4 separate regions of the Homo sapiens genome follow, and all the other regions are linked to region 4. Evidence: promoter capture Hi-C in 16 types of primary human blood cells and fetal thymus (Javierre and others, 2016). All regions are on one chromosome and are shown on one strand. The core of a region is centred on a gene start or on the middle of the fragment in contact, and the rest is flanking DNA. Distances in the headings are between cores, read along the strand shown. Region 1 holds the start of DPRX (divergent-paired related homeobox). Region 2 overlaps LOC107985342 (a long non-coding RNA gene). Region 3 overlaps NLRP12 (NLR family pyrin domain containing 12). Region 4 holds the start of FPR3 (formyl peptide receptor 3).

Evidence for each region. The method cuts DNA at HindIII sites, captures the fragments that hold promoters and counts their contacts. A CHiCAGO score of 5 or more calls a contact.
Region 1: a contact is called between the fragment with the promoter of DPRX here and the fragment with the promoter of FPR3 in region 4, in 5 of 17 cell types (naive CD8 T cells, total CD4 T cells, total B cells and 2 more). The highest score is 11.1, in naive CD8 T cells.
Region 2: a contact is called between a fragment that was not itself captured here and the fragment with the promoter of FPR3 in region 4, in 9 of 17 cell types (naive CD8 T cells, non-activated CD4 T cells, fetal thymus and 6 more). The highest score is 13.5, in naive CD8 T cells.
Region 3: a fragment that was not itself captured here is called in contact with the fragment with the promoter of FPR3 in region 4 in 4 of 17 cell types (total CD4 T cells, naive CD8 T cells, non-activated CD4 T cells and 1 more); the score reaches 7.1 in total CD4 T cells.

What each region holds. Positions count from the first base shown.
Region 1 is chr19:53,630,396-53,636,194 of GRCh38, forward strand. It overlaps DPRX (divergent-paired related homeobox), which reads left to right and starts at 1,604. Exons shown (of 3, transcript NM_001012728.2): 1 at 1,604-1,739; 2 at 4,136-4,290. The coding sequence starts at 1,712. The HindIII fragment of the contact is 17,175 bases long and covers 1-4,501 here.
Region 2 is chr19:53,657,302-53,662,967 of GRCh38, forward strand. All of the region lies in intron 2 of LOC107985342 (a long non-coding RNA gene), which reads left to right. It also overlaps the pseudogene LOC100288093. Among named protein-coding and RNA genes, the nearest start is that of MIR512-1, 6.5 kb to the right of the region's middle. RefSeq lists enhancers at 3,040-3,929, 3,930-4,819. The HindIII fragment of the contact is 172 bases long and covers 3,980-4,151 here.
Region 3 is chr19:53,788,757-53,794,415 of GRCh38, forward strand. It overlaps NLRP12 (NLR family pyrin domain containing 12), which reads right to left. Exons shown (of 10, transcript NM_144687.4): 10 at 4,985-5,380. The coding sequence ends at 5,293. It overlaps MIR373 (microRNA 373), which reads left to right; the gene lies at 1-17. Among named protein-coding and RNA genes, the nearest start is that of MIR373, 2.9 kb to the left of the region's middle. RefSeq lists enhancers at 3,390-3,890, 3,891-4,391. The HindIII fragment of the contact is 229 bases long and covers 2,180-2,408 here.
Region 4 is chr19:51,792,783-51,798,638 of GRCh38, forward strand. It overlaps FPR3 (formyl peptide receptor 3), which reads left to right and starts at 2,375. Exons shown (of 2, transcript NM_002030.5): 1 at 2,375-2,549. The HindIII fragment of the contact is 12,110 bases long and covers 1-5,856 here.

The DNA of each region.
Region 1 (5,799 bases), core at 354-2,853, 1.8 Mb after region 4:
GCAAAAATTAGCTGGGTATGGTAGTGTGCACCTGTAGTCCCAGTTACTCAGGAGGCTTAGGTGAGAGGCTCACCTAGGCCCAGGAGGTTAAGGCTGCATTGAGCTATGATTTTGCCACTGCACTCCAGGCTGGGCCTAGGCCTTTGTAGTCACAGCTACTTGGGGGCAAATGTAGGAGGATCACTTGAGCCCAGTAGGTCGAGGCTGCAGTCAGCTGTGTTTTTTGAGACATAGCAAGACCCTGTCTCAAAAAGAAAAAAAAAAGTAGCTACAAGCTCATTTATGCAAAGGCTAACCACTGTCACAAGTAGAGATGTGCAGAACTGAGATTCAAATGGATGGAATGGCAAGAAAAACTGCCACTTCTGTGAACCTGAAGTCAAACTGCCCTTGTCGTCAAGATAAAAGGTATACATGGTGTGAGCCTGGGCATCTGAAAGGTGTTGCAGCTTTTTCTTTTATTTTTTTGAGATGGAGTCTCACTCCTGTCACCCAGGCTGGAGTGCAGTGGTGCGATCTCAGCTCACTGCAACCTCTGCCTCCTGGGTTCAAGCAATTCTCCTGCCTCAGCCTCCTGAGTAGCTGGGATTACAGGTGCCCACCACCACACCCAGCTAATTTTCGTATTTTTAGTAGAGATGGGGTTTCGCCATGTTGGCCAGGCTGGTCTCGAACTCCTGACCTCAGGTGATCCGCCTGCCTCAGCCTCCCAAAGTGCTGGGATTACAGGTGTGAGCCACCTGTAATTAGCCAGGCTTGGTGGTGGGTGCCTGTAATCCCAGCTACTGGGAAGGCTGAGGCAGGAGAATTGCTTGAACCTGAGAGGCGGAGGTTGCTGTGAGCCGAGATCGTGCCACTGCACTCCAGCCTGGGTGACAGAGTGAGACTCCATCTCTAAATAAATAAATAAATAAATAAAATGAGATGATTTCTGAGTGAGTTAACTAAATCAGGATATGCAGAACAATGCCAAGCATATATTAGCCACTAAAGAATATATAAGTTGCCTGAAAGCCCCTTTAGGGTTTAAACCTGGACTTCATTATTCACAATCACATTCCCGGTCCCCATTACGGAGCCTGGTCACCTGGGTGCTTGTTAGATATGGAAATCATCAGATCCCACCCCAGACCGAGTCAGAAACGTTGAGGGCAGGAGTTCAAGACCAGCCTGGCCAACATGGCGGAAACTCCGTCTCTACTAAAAATACAAAAATTAGTCAGGAGTGGTGGCACAGGCCTGTGATCTCAGCTACTCGGGAGGCTGAGACATGAGAATCCCTTGAACCTGGGAGGCAGAGGCTGCAGTGAGCCAAGATGGTGTCATTGCGCTCCAGCCTGGGTGACAGAGTGGGACTCTGTCTCAAAGAAAAAGAAAAAAAGAAAAGAAATTGCAGCTTCTGCTCAGGAAGTCTGGAGTGGGCCAGGATTCTGCATTTTAACAACTCCCAGGAGTGTTAGTGGGGCTGGTTTGTGGACTCGCCTTTGAGTCGTTGGTCTCCGCTCAATCAATATTAGATAAAATGACAGTATTGGGAGAAATCCAGGGGGCTCTGGAGGACCGAGGGATCATATTGGAGGCAGATAGGGCAGAGAAAGGTGGAGGAGGTGGGAGTCGGGTGTGGCTGTGGAGGAAGCTACTTAAATCCGGATTTGATCTTTGCTAGTTCTTATCCCTGGACCTGAACCCAGGCGCACATCTGGATTAGAAGATGCCAGGCTCAGAGGATCTTCGTAAAGGTAAGCCAGAAAAAATGAGAACCGAAGCAAAGACACGTGAAGAAGTGGAAAGCAGCTGGCGGCGGGAAAAGGCAGAGGGACCAGGCGGCCGAAGCTGGTGCTTCGTCCACGTGGGTGGCAGGGACTTCCCACAGAGGCTGTCATCGTTTTTGTTGTTGTTGTTTTGTTTTGTTTTGTTTGTCTTTTGAGACAGTCTCACTCTGTCGCTCAGGCTGGAGTGCAGTGGCACGATTTCGGCTCACTGCAACCTCCACCTCCCAGGTTCAAGCAATTCTCCTGCCTCAGCCTCCCGAGTAGCTGGGATGACAGGCACACGCCACCACACCTGGCTAATTTTTTTTTTTTTTGTATTTTTAGTAGAGCCGGGGGTTTCACCATATTGACCAGGCTGGTCTCGAACTCCTGACCTTGTGATCCGTCTGGCTCAGCCTCCCAAAGTGCTGGGGTGACAGGCGTGAGCCACTGCACCCGGCCCAAGTTTTGTATCTTTATAGAGATGGGGTTTCACCATGTTAGCTAGGTTGGTCTCAAGCCCCTGACCTCATGTGATTGGCTGGCCTCGGCCTCCCAAAGTGCTGGGATTACAGGCATGAGCCTCGGTGCCCGGCCGCGGCTGTCATCTGACAGCACAGGCAAATGCAGGGAAGCCTGTTTCTGCCTTCAAATCCGAAATCTTCTCCCTCGTAGTTGTGTCCTAATTCTTCCCACCCCGATGCTTGTTCTTGAGCACAGGGGAATCTGATTCCTATGAGGATGATTAGGTCCTAGATAGAATATAGGCTTAGCCAAGCTGGAAATCTCATGTTCATGAGCACTTACTAGACTCTGGAGCTGCTGCCAAACCATTTTCAGGCATGATGCGATTCAGATCTTTTAGAGCGAGGCATGCGGTGGCTCATGCCTGTAATCCCAGCACTTTGGGAGGCCGAGGTGGGCAGATCGCTTCAGCCCAGGAGTTCAAGACCAGCCTGGGCAACAAAACAAGACGTTGTCTCTACAAAAAATACAAAAATTAGCCGGGCATGTCAGTGTTGTGTAGTTCCAGCTACTCGGGAGGCTGAGGTGAGAGGATCGCTTGAGCCTGGGGAGGTTGAGGCTGAAGTGAGCTGTGATCATGCCACTGGGCAACACAGCAGTACACTGTCTCAAGAAAAAGAAAGTAAAAGGTGACATCCGTGACAGCAGTGATGTTATTTTTCTGCTTATTTCCTTGCTATATTCCTAAAAGAATATACTTAATGAACATTGAATAAATGATAAGAATAAAACCATGTCCATCCATTTCACCTTGGATTGAGTTGCCTATTTCTACACAAAGAAAATAGAACCCAAGAGGTAAGGCACAAGCGATCCCTTATTTACGTATTTATTTATTTATTTATTTATTATTTTCTTGAGACAGGGTCTCCCTCTGTCTCAGGCTGGAGTGCAGTGGCATAATCTCGGCTCACCACAGCCTCTGCCTCTGAGGTTCAAGCGATTCTCCTGCCTCAGCCTCCCGAGTAGCTGGGACTACAGGCGTGCACCATCACGCCCAGCTAATTTTTGTACTTTTAGTAGAGACAGGGTTTCACCATGTTAGCCAGAATGGTCTTGATCTCTTGACCTCATGATCCGCCCGCCTTGGCCTCCCAAAGTGCTGGGATTACAGGCATGAGCCACTGTGCCCGGCCAAATTTTTGTGTTTTTAATAGAGATGGGGTTTCACCATGCTGGCCAGGCTGGTCTCAAACTCATGACCTGATATGATCTGCCCGCCCTGGCCTCCCAAAGTGCTGGGATTACAGGCGTGAGCAAGGGATCCCATATTTAAATGATAACAGAAAAAAAGGATGGAGGAACCAAGGGGGAAAGGAACAACCTTTTCCTATGAAAATGACAAATGAGGCTTGGAAAAACAAGGACAAAAGGCAGATCAAGTTGTCCTCCCGCTTCAGCCTCCCACAGTACTGGGACTGCAGCCTGAGGCACGACCCCGGCCAGCAGTGTCTCCATATCTAAGAACCTCAGTCACGGCCGGGCACAGTGGCTCACGCATGTAATCCCAACACTTTGGGAGGCCGAGGCGGGTGGATCACCTGAGGTCAGGAGTTCGAGACCAGCCTAGCCAACATGGTGAAACCCTGTCTCTGCTAGAAATACAAAAATTATCCGGGCATGGTGGCGTGCGCCTGTAATCCCAGCTACTCGGGAGGCTGAGGCAGGAGAATCGCTTGAACTCAGGAGGTGGAGGTTGCAGTGAGCTGAGATTGTGCCACTGCACTCCAGCCTCGGTGACAGAACCTCAGTCACTTGATCATCACGTTGTACCTCAGTGGAAAGGAAAGGAAAGCTCAGGCTTTTGAGAATGGAGTTGTTAGCATTTCCCATTTGTGTCTTTTTCCTCCTCTTTCAAGGCAAGGACCAGATGCATTCACACAGGAAACGAACCATGTTCACTAAGAAGCAACTGGAAGATCTGAACATCTTGTTCAATGAGAACCCATACCCAAACCCCAGCCTTCAGAAAGAAATGGCCTCGAAAATAGACATACACCCAACAGTACTGCAGGTTGGAAAATGATCCCTCTTCTCACTAAACTGCCTTCCTGATCTAATCTAAATTCAGAGTCCCTCTAGGATAATTCCTGAGGTCTCATTCCAATCGCCAATATTCCCCAAACCCACACTCTCCTACTCACGTCCCCGTAAACCTTTCTTCAACCCCCTAGAGCAAGAATGGGAAAATTTTTCCAGTAAAGGACCAGGTAGTAAATAATTGAAGCTTTGTGGGCCATACCGTCTCTCTAGCAACTATTTTAACTATGCCACCACAGTGCGAAGGCAGCCACAGACAACGTAAACAAGAGGCCCATCTGTGTTCCCAGAAACTCTTTTACTCAGGTTGGAGCACGGTGGTGCAATCACAGCTCACTGCAGCCTCGACCTCCCGGGCTCAAGCAATCCTACCACCTCAGCACCCCAAGTAGCTGGGACTACAGGTCTACAGGTGCACACTACGCCTCCCAAAGTGTTGGGATTACAAGCATGAGCCCGGCTGTATTTTATTTTTTGTAGAGATGGGGTTTCGCTATATTGCCCAGGAGGCTGATCTTGAACTCCTGGTCTCAAGTGATTCACCTGCCTTGGCCTCCCAAAGTGTCAGGATTATAGGCATAAGCCACTGCGCCTGGCCTGAAGTTTATACAATTTTCACATTACAAAATAGTGTTGTTTTGTTTTGTTTTAAGACAGGGTGTTGCTCTTGCCCACATTGGAGTGCAGTGGCACGATCATAGCTCACTGCAGCTTTGAATTCCTGGGCTGAAGCCATCCTCCCACTCAGATTCCCAAGTAGGTGGGACTACAGGTGTGTGGTACTACAGCCTCCCGAGCAGCTGATACTACTGGTGTGTACCACCAGGCCCAGCCAATTTGTGTGTTTTTTGTAGAGATGGGGTTTCGTCATGTTGCCCAGGCTGGACTCAAACTCCTGAAATCAAGTGATCCACCCACCTCAGCCTCCCAGAGTCCTGGGATTATAGGCATGAGCCACTGTGCCTGGCCAGTAGTATTCTTTTATTTTCTCTCTTTTTTCTTTCAGTCCCAACACACATACAACACAAAATAGTACTCTTATTGTGTTTGTTTTTTCTCAACCATTTTAAAACGTAAAGCCTATTCTTAGTGCATGGGTGATACAAAGACAGGGGGTGGTCAGATTTGGCCACCAGCCTTAGCTGGCTGGCCTGAGCCCCAGAGCAGCCCCTGCGACTGATCCCCTTGCTCTCCTATCCCCTGCTCTGGGTTTTCTGACCCCTGTCTCAATTTCTGTCCCCAAAATCTCTCATTTCTGCTCCTTCCTGGGAGTAGATTGAGTAGGGTTCCACAAAGAGGATGTAAGTGGCCAAGCTGTGGCACTAGCTGTTCTCACCTAGAAGTACTCATATTATCAACTAAAAGGAAAACTTGGGTTGGGTATGGTGGCTCATGCCTGTAATCCCAGCAGTTTGGGAGGCCGAGGTGGGCGGATCATGAGGTCAGGAGTTCGAGACCAGCCTGGCCAATATGGTGAAACCCT
Region 2 (5,666 bases), core at 2,816-5,315, 1.9 Mb after region 4:
ACTTCAGGTGATCCACCCTCCTCAACCTCCCAAAGTGCTGGGATTACAGGCATGAGCCACCATACCCAGCCTTCCTGCTATTTTTGAACTACCTGTACCAGGCTGGTTTCTCTGGGTGAGGGGAGTGGTCAGGCAGAGGCAGGCCCCGTCATGGTAAGCAGCTAGGAGACTGCTAGAGATTGACAGGGCACTCATGAGTGCCCTGGGTGGACACTGGTGAAAGGTCACTGCCTTCAGGACACACCATAGGTACAGTCACCAAGGTAACCCAGTTCAAAGTAGAGCAGGATGTTGGGTATTTACAAAGGAGATCTAGCAATTGGTCCAAACCAGTCAGTGCTGGCATGTACCGTTCATCGTGCCATCAGTGGCAAGATGGAGATCTGGCAATGCATGGGCTCACAGTAAGATACACGCCCTGTGCCATTCCGTAGACGTAGATCAAGCGATTATTACTGCAGAAATCTCCGTGGACGTAGAGCAAGCAATTATTACTGCAGAAATTGCAGGAGCAGGTTCTGCAGCATGTCACATCCAAAGAAGCTTCCCTTGCAAGTTGGTAACCTTGAGGGCTTCAATACCACACAGAGTTGGTCTAGGTGATGGCTGACCATCCAGGCATAATAATTTGGGGAACAATTCCAGGATGGAGGTTATGTTGCTAGACTTGTTTGTCCGGGAAAGTGGTAGACAGGAAGTTCCTGTCTGCACACGTCTCCTGGCTCCAGCCCTTTCCCCTGTCCATCTGTCCTACAGACTCCGCCTCAGGCATGTTGTCTTGGAGGACGTGCAGAAAGGCAGCCATGCACTTTCTAGGTTTCGATGCCGTCTTAGAGTCACTGGTCACCAGGTCTGGGTCAAACGGGAGTCTCTGGCTGTCAAGACTGGACTGGGAGGAATCACATCGCTTCTTCACCATCAGCTTTATCTGCTTTGCCTTTTCCGACTTCAGCTTTCTCTGCAGGGGGTATCAGTGGGGTTGACAAAGATTGACATCTTTTTGTTATCCTCATCCCTAATCTTGCCACTGACATTCTTCAGTGCCTAGGCGATGCTGGCATTCTCCACAAAGATGTGGGCCTGCATTTTCTCATAGCGAAACTGAATCAGGAGGAAGGGGCATTGCATTGACTCTGAATCAAATTCAGCAGCCACTTCTCATTTTATGCAGATCTTGAACTAGCAGCTCCCTAAGGTCCGATCTGGCCTGTTTCCCTCTGTTCTTTTCTCTGGAGGTTTTTGGCGCTTTCTCTGTGTTAACATGGGTTTGGTCTTGTTTATGGCAAGTGCCTCTCCATGGCTGGGTGCGGTGGCTCACGCCTGTAATCGCAGCACTTTGGGAGGCCAAGGCTGGCGAATCACCAGAGGTCAGTTCGAGACCAGCCTAGCCAACATGGCGAAACCCCGTCTCTACTAAAAATATAAAAAAATTAGCCAGGTATGGTGGCGGGCGCCTGTGGTCCCAGCTACTCAGGAGGCTGAGGCAGGAGAATCGCTTGAACCCGGGAGGCGGAGGTTGCAGTGAGCTGAAATTGTGCCATTGCACTCCAGCTTGGGTGACAGAGTGAGACTCTGTTTAAAAAAAAAAAAAGTAAGTAAATAAATAAATGTTGATATTATGTAGCCATGTTATGTAGTTTTGCATAGCCTTTCTCTGTCTTATAGCTATGAAAGACAATTTCCAAAACATAGCCTAGAATGGAGAATTGAAGATAAAGTGAGAACTGTTGGGCATAGTAACCTAAAAAGGGATCCCCTCTGGTGTGGAAAGATTGTTCCAACGCAAAAGGGACTGAGATCCAGAGATGGCAGTTGTTTGAGATCTGGAATCTTCAGAAGAGGTAGATCAGACTTGCTCAGGAAATAATGGGTCCTACCATCACAGCGGGTACGGATGGGGCTACAAGATGAGAGAGGCTGGATAGGAGAGTATTTAAGGAAAAAAAAAAGACAGAAAAGGACCAAAGGACAGTCTGTGAGACCCCAGAGAATGCATTAAACCTGAAGAATTTCTGAACAATGACGTCTGATATTCAGGCTTCCGTTGTTTCTTTTTGTGCTGTAATCTTCCGTGTTTTCTCTGCACATAGCTCAGTAAAGCTCTATTCACCAGTTAACCTAGAGTCTGTCTTGAGATAAGCAGGGAGGGCTGTGACGGCTGCACAAGGGCGGAGTGGTTTGTAGACCTGAAAAGGAACTTGTAAGAGCTGGCAGATCTTAACCAGGAGAGGGAGCCCCTTTCCACAGCCTAGAAGCTTCTGAAGTCATTTAAATGGAACTGAATTATATGAAGTCAAATGTCAGTTGGGGAAAAAGTCAAACTTTATTATTTATTTATTTATTTGTAATTGTGCGTATACATATATATATATATATATATATATATATATATATATATATATATAATTTTTTTTAAATTATGATCTCCGTGATAGTACCAAATCAAACTTTTTTTGGAGACAGAGTCTTGCTCTGTCACCCAGGCTGGAGTGCAGTGGCGTGATCTCGGCTCACTGCAACCTCCGCCTCCCAGGTTCAAGCAATTCTCCTGCCTCAGCCTCCTGAAGAGCTGGGATTACAGGCGCGTGCCACCATGCCCGGCTAATTTTTGTATTTTTAGTAGAGATAGGGTTTCACCATGTTGGCCAGGCTGGTCTTGAACTCCTGACCTCAGGTGATCCACCCGCCTTGGCCTCCTAAAGTGTTGGAATTACTGGCATGAGCGACCACGCTGGCCCAAACCCTGCTTTTTACTGGAGAGACGAGGTAGCCCTAAGTTAAAAAAAAAAAAAAAAAGACCCTGTTTCACTTCTTTTGGATATACCCGGGGTGACATTGCTAGATCATTCTGCAATTCCTCCTTTTTTTTTTTTTTTTTTTTGCTGGGGGTGGGATAGAGTCTCACTCCCAGGCTGGAGTGCAATGGTGTGATCTTGGCTCACTGCAACCTCCGCCTCCTGGGCTCAAACGACTCTCCTGCAGTGAGGAGCTGGGATTACAGGTGCCTGCCACCACAACCTGCTAATTTTTTTTTTATTTTTTGTATTTTTAGTACAGACGGGGTTTCACTATGTTGGCCAGGCTGGTCTTGAACTCCTGACCCCGTGATCCGCCCGCCACAGCCTCTCAAAGTGCTGGGATGACAGGCATGAGCCTCCGCGCCCAGTAGATCATTCTGTAATTCTGTGTTTAACTTTTTCCCCCCTAAACTTAACTGAAGTGATATTTAACTTTCTGAGGAATCACCAAATCAAAGGTGACTTTTGAGACAAATACAGGAAGTGGAGGTGGTTTTCCTCATGTAGATGAAGACATTCTAAACCCAGAACTGAAAACACACATGGAATCCTTTTAAGTATCAGGATGCCTTGGTGGACAAAATGGATACATCCAACTTCTCAAGGAGCTTAATATTCAGTATTAAAGCTGAGGTGAGCTCAGGTGATTCACGCCTGTAATCCCAACATTTTGGGAGGCCAAGGCAGGCGGATCACTTGAGCCCAGGAGTTTAAGACCAGCCTGGGCAACATAGTGAGACCCCTCCCCCCTGCCCCCGTCTCTACAAAAAATAAAAAAATTACAGACGCATGGTGTAGTCCCAGCTACTTGGCAGTCAAAGGTAGAAGGACTGTTTGAACCCAGGAGTGGGTTGAAGCTGCAGTGAGCCTTGATTGTACCAGTAAACTTTAGCTTGGGAGGCAGTTGAGACCCTGTCTCAAAAAAAAAAAGAAAGGAAGAATTTCTCTCTCCCAACTTCCCTTGGTTTCTCCTCGCCCCCCGGCTAAAAAGTGATTGGGGACCTTTTAAAAAACTTCCTGCTCTCCACAGAATGGGATTACAGCCCCGAGATGATCCATAAAAGATTTTCAGGAAGAATGAAGAGTTTAGGGAGTGAAGGTTCTAAAACAGTAAATAGAGTGTCACAAAGAAATCCATTCATCTCTTTGAAGGCTGGGTATTTGGAAAAAGAGAGAAAGAAAGCTTCATTCAGAGAGCGCTCGCCTGTATTTAGGGGTGTTTGGAGGGGGCGGGGTGACTATAGAATTAGGGTAAAGTTCAGTGTCTTGCAAATCAGCCCTGAAATAGCCCTGATCCCTGCAGGCCTGTCTGGTTTCCCAAACCCTCCACTAGCTTTCAAATTTGCATTAAAAAGCTTTTGGCTTGTTCATTCTGTTCTTTCTTTCTTTTCTTTCTTTTATTTATTTATTTTTTTTGAGACGGAGTCTGGCACTGTCACCCAGACTGGAGTGCAATGGCGCGATCTCCGCTCACTGCAGCCTCTACCTCCCGGGTTCAAGCAATTCTCCTGCCTCAGCCTCCCGAGTAGCTGGGATTACAGGCGCCCACCGCCACACCTGGCTTATTTTTTTAATTTTTAATAGAGATGGGGTTTCTCCATGTTGGCCAAGCTGTTCTCAAACTTCTGACCTGGTGATCCACCTGCCTCAGCCTCCCAAAGTGCTGGGATTACAGGCGTGAGCCACTGCGCCAGGCCCTCATTCTGTTACTTCTTTCTTTCTTTTTTCATTAATTTAAGTTCTGGGATACACATGCGGGATGTGCAGGTTTGCTACATAGGTAAATGCGTGCCGTGGTGGTTTGCTGAACCTATTGACCTAGGTATTAAGCCTCACAGCCATTAGCTATTTGTCCTGATGCCCTTCTGCCTCCTGCCCATTCTTTGTTATTTCTTCATATTCCAATTAATGTTCATTTTGAGGACCTGGCTCTGGCCAGGCAAGGTTCCAGTCTGGAGTCAAACTGAGGAAAGTATTACCTTTCACAAACACTTAGACCACGTTGGGAGGGGAGAATGATTGTCCTCCACATGCGTATGGGTGTGTTATAAACCCCAGGAAGGTAAATACTAAGCAAAGGCGTGCACAGATAATTATTGCAACTGATGATTCCACGTCAATTGTACTGTACTGTGAGTAGGTTTATAGGCTGCCGTGACAGGGGCCATCACCTGGGTACGAGGGTGCTGGCTTCCTCTTGAAGACGTGACTTTAAAATTGTGAGTTGAATAGATGCAAGGATATTGGCCCAGTGGAGGAACTTTGAGGGGAGGGGGCAGGGTATCCTGGTTGGGAGGAAATTACATACAGAAATTGGGGAGTGGTGACAACATTGACTCTTCCAGTAATTGTCTGGGTGTGGTAACTCAGGACTGTAATCCCAGCACTTTGGGAGGCTGAGATGGGAGGATTGCTTGAGCTTGGGAGTTCCAGATCAGCCTAGGTAACACGAGGAGATCTAAAATTGAAAAAAAACGTAGCTGGGTGTGGTGGCTCATTCCTATAATCCCAACAACTTTGACTCAGGAGGCTGAAGTGGGAGGATCCCTTAAGGTCAGGAGGTTGAGGCTGAAGTGAGCTAGCACTTTGGGAGGCCGAGGTATGTGGATTACTTGAGGCCAGGAGTTCGAGACCAGGCTGGCTAACATGGTGAAACCCCATCTCTACTAAAAATAAAAAAATTAGCCAGGCATGGTGGTGCGCGCCTGTAATCCCAGTGACTCGGGAGGCTGAGGCAGGTGAATCACTTGACCCCTGGAGGCAGAGGCTGCAGTGAGCCAAGATCATACCACTGCACTCTAGCCTGGACAACCAGAGTGAAACTCTGTCTCAAAAAAACAATAATAATTTTAAAAAAATTTTTTAAAT
Region 3 (5,659 bases), core at 1,044-3,543, 2.0 Mb after region 4:
CGATTTTGGGGTGTCCCTGTTTGAGTAGGGCATCACGAACCATCCTGCTTCAAGGGAGCCTGCGGGTCTGACTGCAGCTTCAGCTATGACCTGGAGTTCCCGGGCTTCTCTGCGGGGCACCAGTCTGTATGCTCCATTTTAGATAATAAAAATTGGCATATTCTGGGGTGGGCAGGATACGGGGTTCACCTGCAGATGAACAGGGCAGGAAAAGCTTGATGGGGTGTCGGGGGAATCTGGTTGGCCTTAAAGGGAATTTGGGGTCCTGTTCCTGAATTTGGTAGGCAGCATGCATGTAAGGCTTGAAGTGGGTTTGGCCAGAGCATGGGCTGGAGTGCTTCCACCCTGCTACACGGACAATGCCACAGTCTCACTTTTCCTAACTTTTTTTTTTAATAAAATGTGAACAACATCATGTGTTTCTGGTCTATTGGGTTCCTCTGCCACCCACAAGTGCTGGGATTACAGGCATGAGCCTCATGTCTGGCGTTACTGAACCTTCTTCTATGACCCAAGTACATTGCCTAAAAATACTTGTCAGTATTTTGTGCTTCCCTTCTACCCCTGCTAGAACTTAGAGTTATGCTCTTTGAGAGTTCTGCTCTTTAAACTTCAAACAAGTTTAAAAAGTAAGGCCGGGCACAGTGGCAGCACTGCCGAGGCCGACGCAGGCTGATCATGAGGTCAGATCAAGACCATCCTGGCTCACACGGTGAAACCACATCTCTACTAAAAAATACAAAAACATTAGCCGGGCATGGCGGTGGGTGCCTGTAGTCACAGGCTGAGGCAGAAAGGGCATGAACCCGGGAGGTGGAGCTTGCAGCCAGCCGAGGTTGTGCCACTGCACTCCAGCCTGGGTGACAGCGATAACTGTCTCAAAAAATAAAAACCACCCAGGCTGAAGTGTGGTGGCACCATCACAGCTCCCTGCAGGCCTGAGCTCCCTAGATCAAAAGATCTTCCCATATAAGCCCCCCCTCACCCCACCCTTAGTAGCTGGCACCACAGGAGTGTCCCCGCCATGCTCCACTAATGTTTAGTAGAAATTGGGGTCTCATACATTGGCCAGCTTGGTCTGAAACTTAGGGGGAATCAAACATCCCTCCTTTAGTAGAGATGGGGCTTTACTGTCTTGCCCTGGGTGGCCTCCCTGGGATGATGGGTGTGAGCCACAGTGCCAGGCCTAAGTTCATATTTGGAAGGTTTTTTTGCTTCAGATGGTCTCGTGCTCTCGCTCAGGTTGGAGCGCAATGGCGCAATCTTGGTTCACTGCAACCTCTGCCAGCTTAAGCGATTCTCCTGCCCCCGCCTCCCAAGTAGCTGGGATTACAGGCATAAGCCACCACGCCTGGCTAATTTTTTGCATTTTTTAGAGATGGGATTTCTCCACGTTGGCCAGGCTGCTCTGGAACTCCTGACCCCAGGTGATCCACCCACCTCGGCCTCCCAAAGTGCTGGGATTATAGGCGTGAGCCACCACGTGGGGCCTTCAGTAGGTTCTTAGTTGCTGTTTGCCCTATCACTGGTTTCCGGGTCTGCTGGCCACTATCCCCTGTAAGTTTTCCTATCCCCTGTAGGTGTTCCAAACCCTTGCGGCTGCTTTGCCCACTCCACAGTATCTGAACTGAAGTAAGATCTCAAATTCAAGGGAGTTTTGTTTTGCTATTTGTACCCGCAATTCATAAAGCAGTTGTAGCCTCTGTCCCAATACCGCCACCACTGGTGGGGAGTCCGCCACGGTAACCAGTAAGACTTCTCTTTATATTTGACCTACCTGGGCCTCCTGTCATCTTTTCTACGGGCAGCTTGGGGATTGTTAGTTGAGGGTTTTTTGTTTTTGTGTTTTTTTTTTTGTTTTTTTTTTTTTTTAAAGAGATGGAGTCTCGCTCTGTCGCCAGACTGGAGTACAATGGCATGATCTTGGCTCACTGCAACTTCCACCTCCCAGGTTCAAGCGATTCTTTTGCCTCAGCCTCCCGAGTAGCTGGTATTATAGGCACCCACCACCATGCCCAGCTAATTTTTTTTGGATTTTTAGTACAGATGGCGTTTCCCCATGTTGGCCGGGCTGGTCTCACTAAACTCCTGACCTCAAGTGATCCACCCACCTTGGCCTCCCAAAATTCTGAGATTACAGGTTTGAGCCACTGCGCCCAGCCTTTAGTTGAGTTTCTTAAGCTTGTTTAGGGTTTAGCCTGTATGGCCAGCAGGGTGTAGGTGGGGGTGGTTTGTAAGCAGGGCTGTTTGCTTCAGAAGCAGCTGTGGAAACAGGACTGAATGCAGACATATAAAGAATATTGGGTAAATAACTTTTTAAAAAATTTAGAGATAGGATCCCACTATGTTGCCCAATCTGGTCTTGAAACCTAAACAATCTCTTATCCCAAAGTGCTGGGATTGCAGAAAGCTTAAGGCACAGTTTTACGTGGTAATGGTGGGCCATTTTTAGTTTCTTTTTTGTAGACGATCATGTCATCTAGGCTGGAATGTAGCGGTTCTGTCGAGCTAGGTGTAGCCTCCACTTCCTGGACTCAAGCATTTTTCCTCAGCTTCAGTAGCTGGGTCTATGCATGAATACCCCTTCTGGGGTAGATAGATAGTAGTACATAGAGTAGATAATTTTTTTGTGTTCAGGCGGCACCTTAAGGTTGGTGTAAAAATTCTTGGCCTTCTAAAGAGCTGGAATTAGACATGAGCTGTTGCACCTGGCCAATGGGACAATTATGTCTACAGGACTGAATCAGTATCTGATCTCTGGAGTTGTAAGGTCACTTTTTCTGAAACTGCCTCAGTCTCCTTGCAGGTTCTGGTCTGTAGATCTCCAGTGTGTGGGCTGAGCACAGCATGGGGACCTGATTTCCCACCGGGCAGTGACATAGTTTAAAGATTCTTAGTTCGAATTCCTAATAATGGGAATATAGGTTTCTGTGTATTGAAATGGGAATATGCATTTTTTTTTTTTTTAGAGTCTTGCTCTGTCACTAGGCTGGAGTGCAGTGGCACAATCTCGGCTCACTGCAACCTCCGCCTCCTGGGTTCAAGTGGTTCCCCTGCCTCAGCCTCCTGAGTAGCTGGGACTACAGGCGCCCTCCACCACGCCCTGCTAATTTTTTGTATTTTAGTAGAGACGGGGTTTCACCATGTTGGCCAGGATGGTCTTGATCTCCTCACCTTGTGATCCACCCGCCTTGGCCTCCCAAAGTGCTGGGATTACAAGCGTGAGCCTCTGCACCCAGCCAAGGGAATATGGATTCCTCTTTTTTTTTTTTTTTTTTTTTTTTTTGAGACGGCGTCTCTATCACCCAGGCTGGAGTGCAATGGCGTGATCTCTGCTCACTGCAACCTCTGTCTCCCGGGTTCAAGTGATTCTCCTGCCTCAGCCTCCCGAGTAGCTGGGATTACCCGCATGTGCTATCACGCCTGGTTAATTCTATATTTTTATTAGAGACAGGGTTTCTCCATGTTGGTCAGGCTGGTCTTGAACTCCCGACCTCAGGTGATCTGCCCTCCTTGGCCTCCCAAAGTGCTGGGATTACAGGTGTGAGCCACCACACCCTTTTTTTTTTTTTTTTTTTAAGATGGAGTCTCGCTCTGTCGCCCAGGCTGGAGTGCAGTAGTGCGATCTCGGTTCACTGCAACCTCTGCCTCCCAGGTGCAAGCGATTCTCCCGCCTCAGCCTCCCCAGCAGCTGGGACTATAGGTGCATGCCACCACACCCAGCTAATTTTTTGTATTTTTAGTAGAGATGGGGTTTCACTGTGTTAGCCAGGATGGTATTGATCTCTTGACCTAGTGATCCGCCCGCTTCGGCCTCCAAAGTGCTGGGATTACAGGCATGAGCCACCGTGCCCAGCCTAATTTTTGTATTTTTAGTAGGTTTCACCATGTTGGCCAGGCTGGTCTCGAACTCCTAACCTCAGCTGATCTGCCTGCCTTGGCCTCCGAAAGTATTTGGATTACAGGCATGAGTCACCGCATCTGGCGGTATTTTTGTTGAAAGCACAGTGTATAATAGGTTATGGCCAGCCTACACGTGGCCTTGTAGGTGTCAGTTCTTGGCAGGGCCCAGTGAATTCCAGGCAGGGGGCCATCCTGACATGCCTGCCACGTTAAGATTTCAGACATTATCCCCTCCAGCAAGGGAGGATCAGGGCTGTTGGCATAACAAGCATTCTGAGGGTTAGCTTGCATACCAGTCTCTTCCCAAATGCTGAGTTGCCCCATGTATCCTGTGACATTTGAGAATAGGCTTTCCTCAACTTGGCACAATTTGCCTTTGGACCAAGTGCTTTGTCCTGTGCATTCCTTGCTGGATGTTGGCATGCATTCCTAGTGTCGTCCACTAGATGGCAGTGGCACCCACCCCAGAGCTCAAATATTACTATGTTCCGATGCAGCCAGGGCTTGGCAGGGCTGGGTGGCCTCTGAGGGCCCCTACTGGCCATTTTTCACCGTCTCCCTCTGTTGCCCAGGCTGGGGCGCAGTGATGCAATGACAGCTCACTGCAGCCTCGACCTCCTGGGCTCAAGCGATCTTCCCACCTCAGTCCCCAGAGTAGCTGGGACTACAGGCATGTGCTGCTACTCCTGGGTAATTAATTGTACTAATTAATAGTAGTTGGCTAATTAGTAACAGTGGAGTCTTGCTATGTTGCTTAGGCTGGTCTCTAACTCCTAGACTTAAGCAACCCATCTTGCCTCCACCTTTGAAAGTACGGGGGTTACAGGCGTGAGACACCGCACCTGGCCCCTGTTGGGATTTACCCCTCCTGTTAGGGGCCATCAAACCTCTCTTAGTTGGTCATCCCTTAAAGCTCCGTCAAACTTTTTTTTTTTTTTTTTTTGAGATGGAGTCCCACTCTGTCGCCCAGGCTGGAGTGCAGTGGCGCGATCTCGGCTCACTGCAACCTCCACCTCCCGGGTTCAAGCGATTCTCCTGCCTCAGCCTCCTGAGTAGCTGGGACTACAGGTGCCCGCCACCATGCCTGGCTAATTTTTTTTTATTTTTAGTAGAGACAGGGTTTCACCATCTTGGCCAGGCTAATCTCAAACTCCTGACCTCGTGATCCACCTGCCTCGGCCTCTCGAAGTGCTAGGATTACATACATGAGCCACCACGCCTGGCCAGCTCTGTCAAACATTAATTTGATCCCAAGCAGAGGGACTTTTGATCTCAATCTGCATGAGTCTGTCTCTAGGAAGGAGGCTGATCATTATGCTGGGGGGGTGATGAGCACCCTCCCATCTTCCTCTGTCCAGATCTCAGGGGAGAGCCAGCAGATAGGACCATTCAGCAGCCAATGTCCAAATAAGGTTTTGTTACTCGAAGCGCTGCCAACCTACTGTGGGTCATTTTATTCAGGTCCATCCCAAATAACCTGTGGACACAAGAGTTGATATTATTCCAGTGTACTACTGTGGCATTCAATTAATAAGCCTTAAGTATCTATTGTGCACTACCGTGGTAAGATAATTCCATGATCCTCCAGAAATTCCACCCAACGCTGCTGGAAAGTAGGCTTACTACATGCTACATGCAAGTCCCCAAGCTGTGTTAACTGCATAATTTTTTTTTTTTTGAGACACAGTCTCATTCTGTCACCCAGGCTGGAGTGCAGTGGTGCAATCTCAGCTCACTGCAACCTCCACCTCCCAGG
Region 4 (5,856 bases), core at 1,125-3,624:
GAACTACAGGTCCACACCACCACACCCAGCTAATATTTTTTTGGTTTTAGAGATGGGGTCTCACTATGTTGCCCAGGCTGGTCTTGAACTCCTGAGCTCAAGCAATCTTCCTGTCTTGGCCTCCCCAAATTCTGGCATTACAGGCGTGAGCCACTGTCCCTGACCTTTATTTTTATGTATCGGTATTTTTGTTATTTCTTGGCCATTGATTGGTCTAGAGATGGCATGCTCTGGCAATGAAAGACAAGGAGAGGTCCTGAAGAGACTCTGGACAAGGTTTCCCTCTGTAATAAAATGGAAGAGGCATGTGAATGAGTCACATTTTCTGCCTGTCTCATGATTCTGGCTCGGGAGGGCCTGTTGATGCAATGTCCAGAACAGTGGCAGCCATTCTGTGGTCACTTTCAAGAAAGCCCTAGAAGAAAACCAATATGATGATGGAGTGGAAGGGTGACATTAAACTCAATTTTTGTTCAAACTCCAGATCTATCCCCTTCCAAAACTTTTTTTAATAATAAATTTCTCCATGGCTTATGTGCTTCATTGGTTTACTCTACCTTATCACTGAAAACATCCAGTGAATCAGAGAGAAAATAGAAAATAGTTGACTCTTGTTTTGTGGCTCTCCACTGTTTTTCATGGTTCTATTCCTTGGGCTTGAGAACAACATTCTGATGGTGTTTAAAAACTCAGAAAGAGCCCATCTCCTTAGATCAGTAGTCCATAGAGCATCTCCCTAGGGGCAGAAGGTTAGGGGGTTAATCTCGGCAATGGTGTGGAGTGTACAGTGTCTCTCATTTACCTTCCTTACCTCTCTACATGCTCCTAGTTACTGCTTCTCTTTGTAACTCTGAGGTATGAAATACCTCAAAGCATATTTGATTTTGTCACAGATTTCTGGCACAGGGCTCTTAAAACCCTTGGAATTCCCTGAGTGATAGGAGTATTATTTGTTATTCATAAACAGCCCCTTTTGATCATAGCTGAGTTTATGCTAAGGAGATCATGGCCTTAGGATGGGACTGGTCACCAGAAAGACCAAGGGATTAGAGGGTTGGAGCTGTCAGCCCCACCTACTGATCTCCAGGAAGGGGAGGCAGGGACTGGAGATTGAGTTCCATAAAAACTCTTGAACAATGAGATTTGATGAGCTTCCACATTGGTGAACACTCAGGAGTGCTGGGAGAGTGGCTGCCTGAAGAGAGCATGGAAGCTCCATGCACCACCCAACCCCTTCCCTGCCATATACCTGCCATATGCCTCTTTCCAATGGACTATTCCTGAGGTATATTCCTTATATAAAGCAACAGATGCAAACAAAGTGCTTTCCTGAGTTCTGTGTGCCATTCTAGCAATTTATTGGTGTCATTGGAACACCCAATTTATAGCCTGTCAGTCAGAAGTACAAGTAGCCACCTGGGACTTGCAACAGATGTCTGATCTGATCTGAGAACAGTTTGTGGGAGTGAGCCCTTTAGCTTTTCGGATCTGAGCTGAATCCAGGTAGACAGCATCATAACCGAATTTTTAATTGCAGGTGGCCCAGGTGGTGTCCCCAGAGAATTGGAGAATTTCTTGGTGTAGAGAAAAAGTATATTTGGTCAGAAGGATTGTGAAAGTAGAGAATCGAGTTTTTGTTTCACCGTGCATCTTTGTTTTTTTATTGTTTTTCCTCTCATTCTTCTCACCTTGGTAATTGTTTCTTTCATTTTCCTGAATCTCTGAAAAGAAAGGGCCTGGACTCTCAGATTTCTTGGCCTTTGATATTTGGAAGGATGAACTCCAGTCTCCCACAGAAGGCTAGAGGTGAAGGAACATTCAGACACATAAGTTTCCAAGATAAATCGTCTGAGAACATCTCCAAGGTGTCTTCTGGGAATGGTAAGAAACCCTGAGTTTGTGTCACTGGATTGATTCCAGCTCCATTGTCCCCGTGTCCTTCAACTAAGTCTCTGCTGAAGCCTGTTCTATAAAAACAGCAAGTAAGTGGTTTGGACTGACCTATTGTACTAGGTTCGACAAAGCAAACCAAATGGAGTCAGTCATACTAAAACTCCACATCACCAAACCAAAACTAATGTATCTGAACTTTTGAGAAATCAGGAGAGAGAGAAAATGGACAAATTCCTAAAACAGGCCAGTTTCAGTGGGCATGAACATGAAGTTCTGTCTGCTTTCATCTTTACAAAAAAAAAAAAAAAGCAATCTGTGGTAACTTGACTTCAATCAATCAGTTGTTCCTTATTGCTGTCTCTCTATTCCTGCTGCACAAAAAAAATGCAACATCCAGATGACCAATCAGGTTTTTGTTCTCTGTTTCTGCTTTCTTTAGCCCTCCTATCCCTGTAAAACCAACTTCCTTGGCTCTAACTATCAAAACACTCATTTTGTTTTATAGCATGACAGGCTGTCTGATTCCATCTTTATAACCAAAGCCAATTAAGATCTTAAAACCAAACATATAACTTCATCTTTTTACAAGTACTTAGAGCCTGAGTTGCTCCACAGGAATCCAGGAACTGGGCACAGGAAAAGGATCTAAGCTGGTGGTAAGTTGGGGTCTGAAAATTTTAAAGTTATTGTTGAAATGCCTGCTATATGACAGAGCCCTTCTAACTCTGGAGTAGCGTAGTCCAGTGAAGAATCCACTTCGTTAGTATGAAAACAATGTTAACTATTTCATTAACAGTGTTTAATTTGGTTACATGTTCCAGTAACATTCTTTTTTTTTTTTTTTTTTTTTTTTTTTTTGATGGAGTCTTGCGCTGTCACCCAGGCTGGAGTGCAGTGGCACAATCTCAGCCCACTGCAACCTCTGCCTCCCAGGTTCAAGCGATTCTCCTGCCTCAGCCTCCTGAGTAGCTGGGATTACAGGCACCTGCCACCACGCCTGGCTAATTTTTTGTATTTTTAGTAGAGACGGGGTTTCAATATGTTGGCCAGGCTGGTCTTCAACTCCTGACCTCGTGATCTGCCCACCTCGGCCTCCCAAAGTGCTGGGATTACAGGCGTGAGCCAATGTGACTGGCCAATTCTTTATCATATATGTAATTAAATAAAATTTATTACTAAAATAATTTCCCCAAAGGTGTTTTACTTTTTTAAAAACAGTGGCTACAAAAAAATTTTGAGTCCCATATGTAGCTAAAGTTAACACATTATATTTCTACTGGACATGTAGCATTGTAGAGATGTAGCATTGAAGGATCTTGATAGTCCTGTGGAGCTTACGTACTAGTGTGGAGGGTATTTAAGAGAGAAGATAAATGAACAAACAAATAAAGGAGAAAAGTATCTGGTGAGATAGGCTGTACCTGAGCATTCTGCTTTGCAGAGTGGGTGAGGTGGGATCTCTCTGAAATAATATTTGACCTGAAATATGAATATTCAGGATGAGCCAGGTGCAGGAAGCTCAAGACGAAGAGCACGGTAGGCAGAAGGAATAGAGAAAGCAGAAGCCCTGAGATGACAAAGAGCTGCAAGTTCAAGGAATTAGAGCCCAGTGGGTGGAGCCCAGTGTGTCTGATGAGAGTGCAGAGATGAGGTCTGAGGGATGCACAGGGCACATGTGGCAGTGGATAAGGGAACCTAGGATAAGGGAACCTAAGATAAGGGTAACTTAGAAGTCTGGAAGCCATCGGAAGGTATTGCGAATAACATCACCATCTTATTGGACCTTTTTAAAGCTCATTTGGTTTCTGTCTGGAGAATGGATCTTAGGGGAGGGGGCAGCAGGACCAGGAAAAAGCTATTTGCAAGGCTTGTGCAAATATCCAAGCCTGACAGGGCCATGGACACCGGTCGTGGAGATGGCAATGGCTCTGGCTGTGCATTCAGCATGTTCTGTAGATAGAATGAGTAAGACGTGGATGGCGTTGGGTGGTGAGGAAAAGAGAAATGAAAGGTGAGTTCTAGATCTGGAGCTTTAACAACTGAATATTTAATCTCCAAATAGATACAGAATATTGGAAGAGTGGCAGGTCTGGGAGGCAGAGAACATCAACAGTTTGGTAAAACCATGTGAGGTTTGGAGTCTATGGGACTCCCACGGGGAGAGGTTTTATCAGACTTGAGTGCCAGGGAGAGGCCACGGCTGATAATTTAGATGAAAAGACAGCATAATGGTTTAATCCCAGAGACTGGATGATATCATTTATAGAATGTGAGATACCCCAACATTTAGAGTCAAATTTAGAATAGAAAACACCGTAAATTGGACTAAAAAGAGGAAGAGAATCGAGCTGTAGAGACGACCAAGAGTGTATTGTGTGCACATATCTCTTGGATATATCTCATGGCATAGGAAAAATGTGTTTGAAAAGGGAGAAAGTGATCCAATGGGTCCTGTGTCATTGGGATATCAGGTCTTAAAAACTGAGAAGGACTCACTGGATTTGGCAGCCTGGGGGTCATAAGCATCCTTGGGAAAATGCATTAGGTGGAGTGCTAAGGACAGAAGTCAATGTGGAGTGGATTAAGGAGAACAGCTGAGGCGAAGAAGGAAAAGGAAGAATTAGAGACATTCTCTTTGGATGTTTGGCTGGAAATTCTGTCTTACAGACAGACCTTACAGAGAGGTCATTTGGCTAGATAGGGTTGAAGCTGGAAAGAAATATGCTTCAAAGGAGGTTTCTCTTGAAAGAGAGGGGGCGTGATTATGTGATAGAATGATCTAGTAGAAATACAATTTTCAATTTTTTTGGTATAAAAAATGATCTTTTATCCCTCACCACATCCCACCTCAATCTAAGTCTTAACTTTCTCGTCTGTACAATGGTTATACAAATTAAAACTAACATTAATCAATATTCACCGTGTCTCAGGGTGTGTTGAGTGCTTACACATATTAACACATCCCATCCACAGAGCCTATGAGAGGAGTTGTGAGGGTTAAGGGAGAAGCTCTTGGTGTGTGGATAATGTTCATAAGTAGAAGCTACTATTGCTATAAGCATCGTTCTTGTCCTGACCCTGAGCTTCATAGTGCAGGGTTCGGGATTGTACCCCACAACACAACACACAGCCTGGTGAGGGCTAAGAGTTCTAATTTGTTACAGATTTACCGACCTATCCTAGATGATTTCCATGTCTATTCTTTTTTTTTTTTTTTTTTTTTTTGAGACGGAGTCTCGCTCTGTTGCCAAGCTGGAGTGTAGTGGTGCAATCTCAGCTCACTGCAACCTCTGCCTCCTGGGTTCAAGCGATTCCCCCACCTCAGCCTCCAGTCCATGTCTATTCTATTTAATCCTCCCCTGAAAATCAGTCTTTATCAAAAAACCATTTCAGTTCTGCAGAGGGGAAAATGGGGGCTCAAAGAGATGTCACTGATCAAGAATTTACACCATCGAGGTGTCAGAGATAAGATCAGAGTAGAGATCTAACTGACTCCAAAGCCTGGTACTCTTTACACTGTTACAGTGACACCCAACTGGCAGGGGGAGGGGGTGGGAGGTATTTTGCCTCCCAGGGGATCTTTGACAATGTCTTTTGGTTGTCACTCCTGAATGGGGAGTTGCTACTGGCATCTCTGGATAGCGGCCAGGGGTGCCGCTAAACATCCTACTGTGTACAGAACAGTCCACCACAACAAAGAATTAACCAGCCCAAAATGCCATTGGTGTCAAAGCTGAGAAACCCTGAGCTACACTAAACAATGTCCCTGGGAAGACCTCAGTGAAAGTGACTGATAATGATAGGAAAAAAGAAGGAAATGAGTAAAAGAAATAGGAGAAAAAATTTATTATACGAGGGCAGGACCCTATCCTGGTAATTTTGGAAGAACGCCTTTCAATGGCAGCACTTGAGCGTGCAAAGGTAGTGGCTCTGTTCGGTCTGGTTTACAAATCTTCCTGTCTC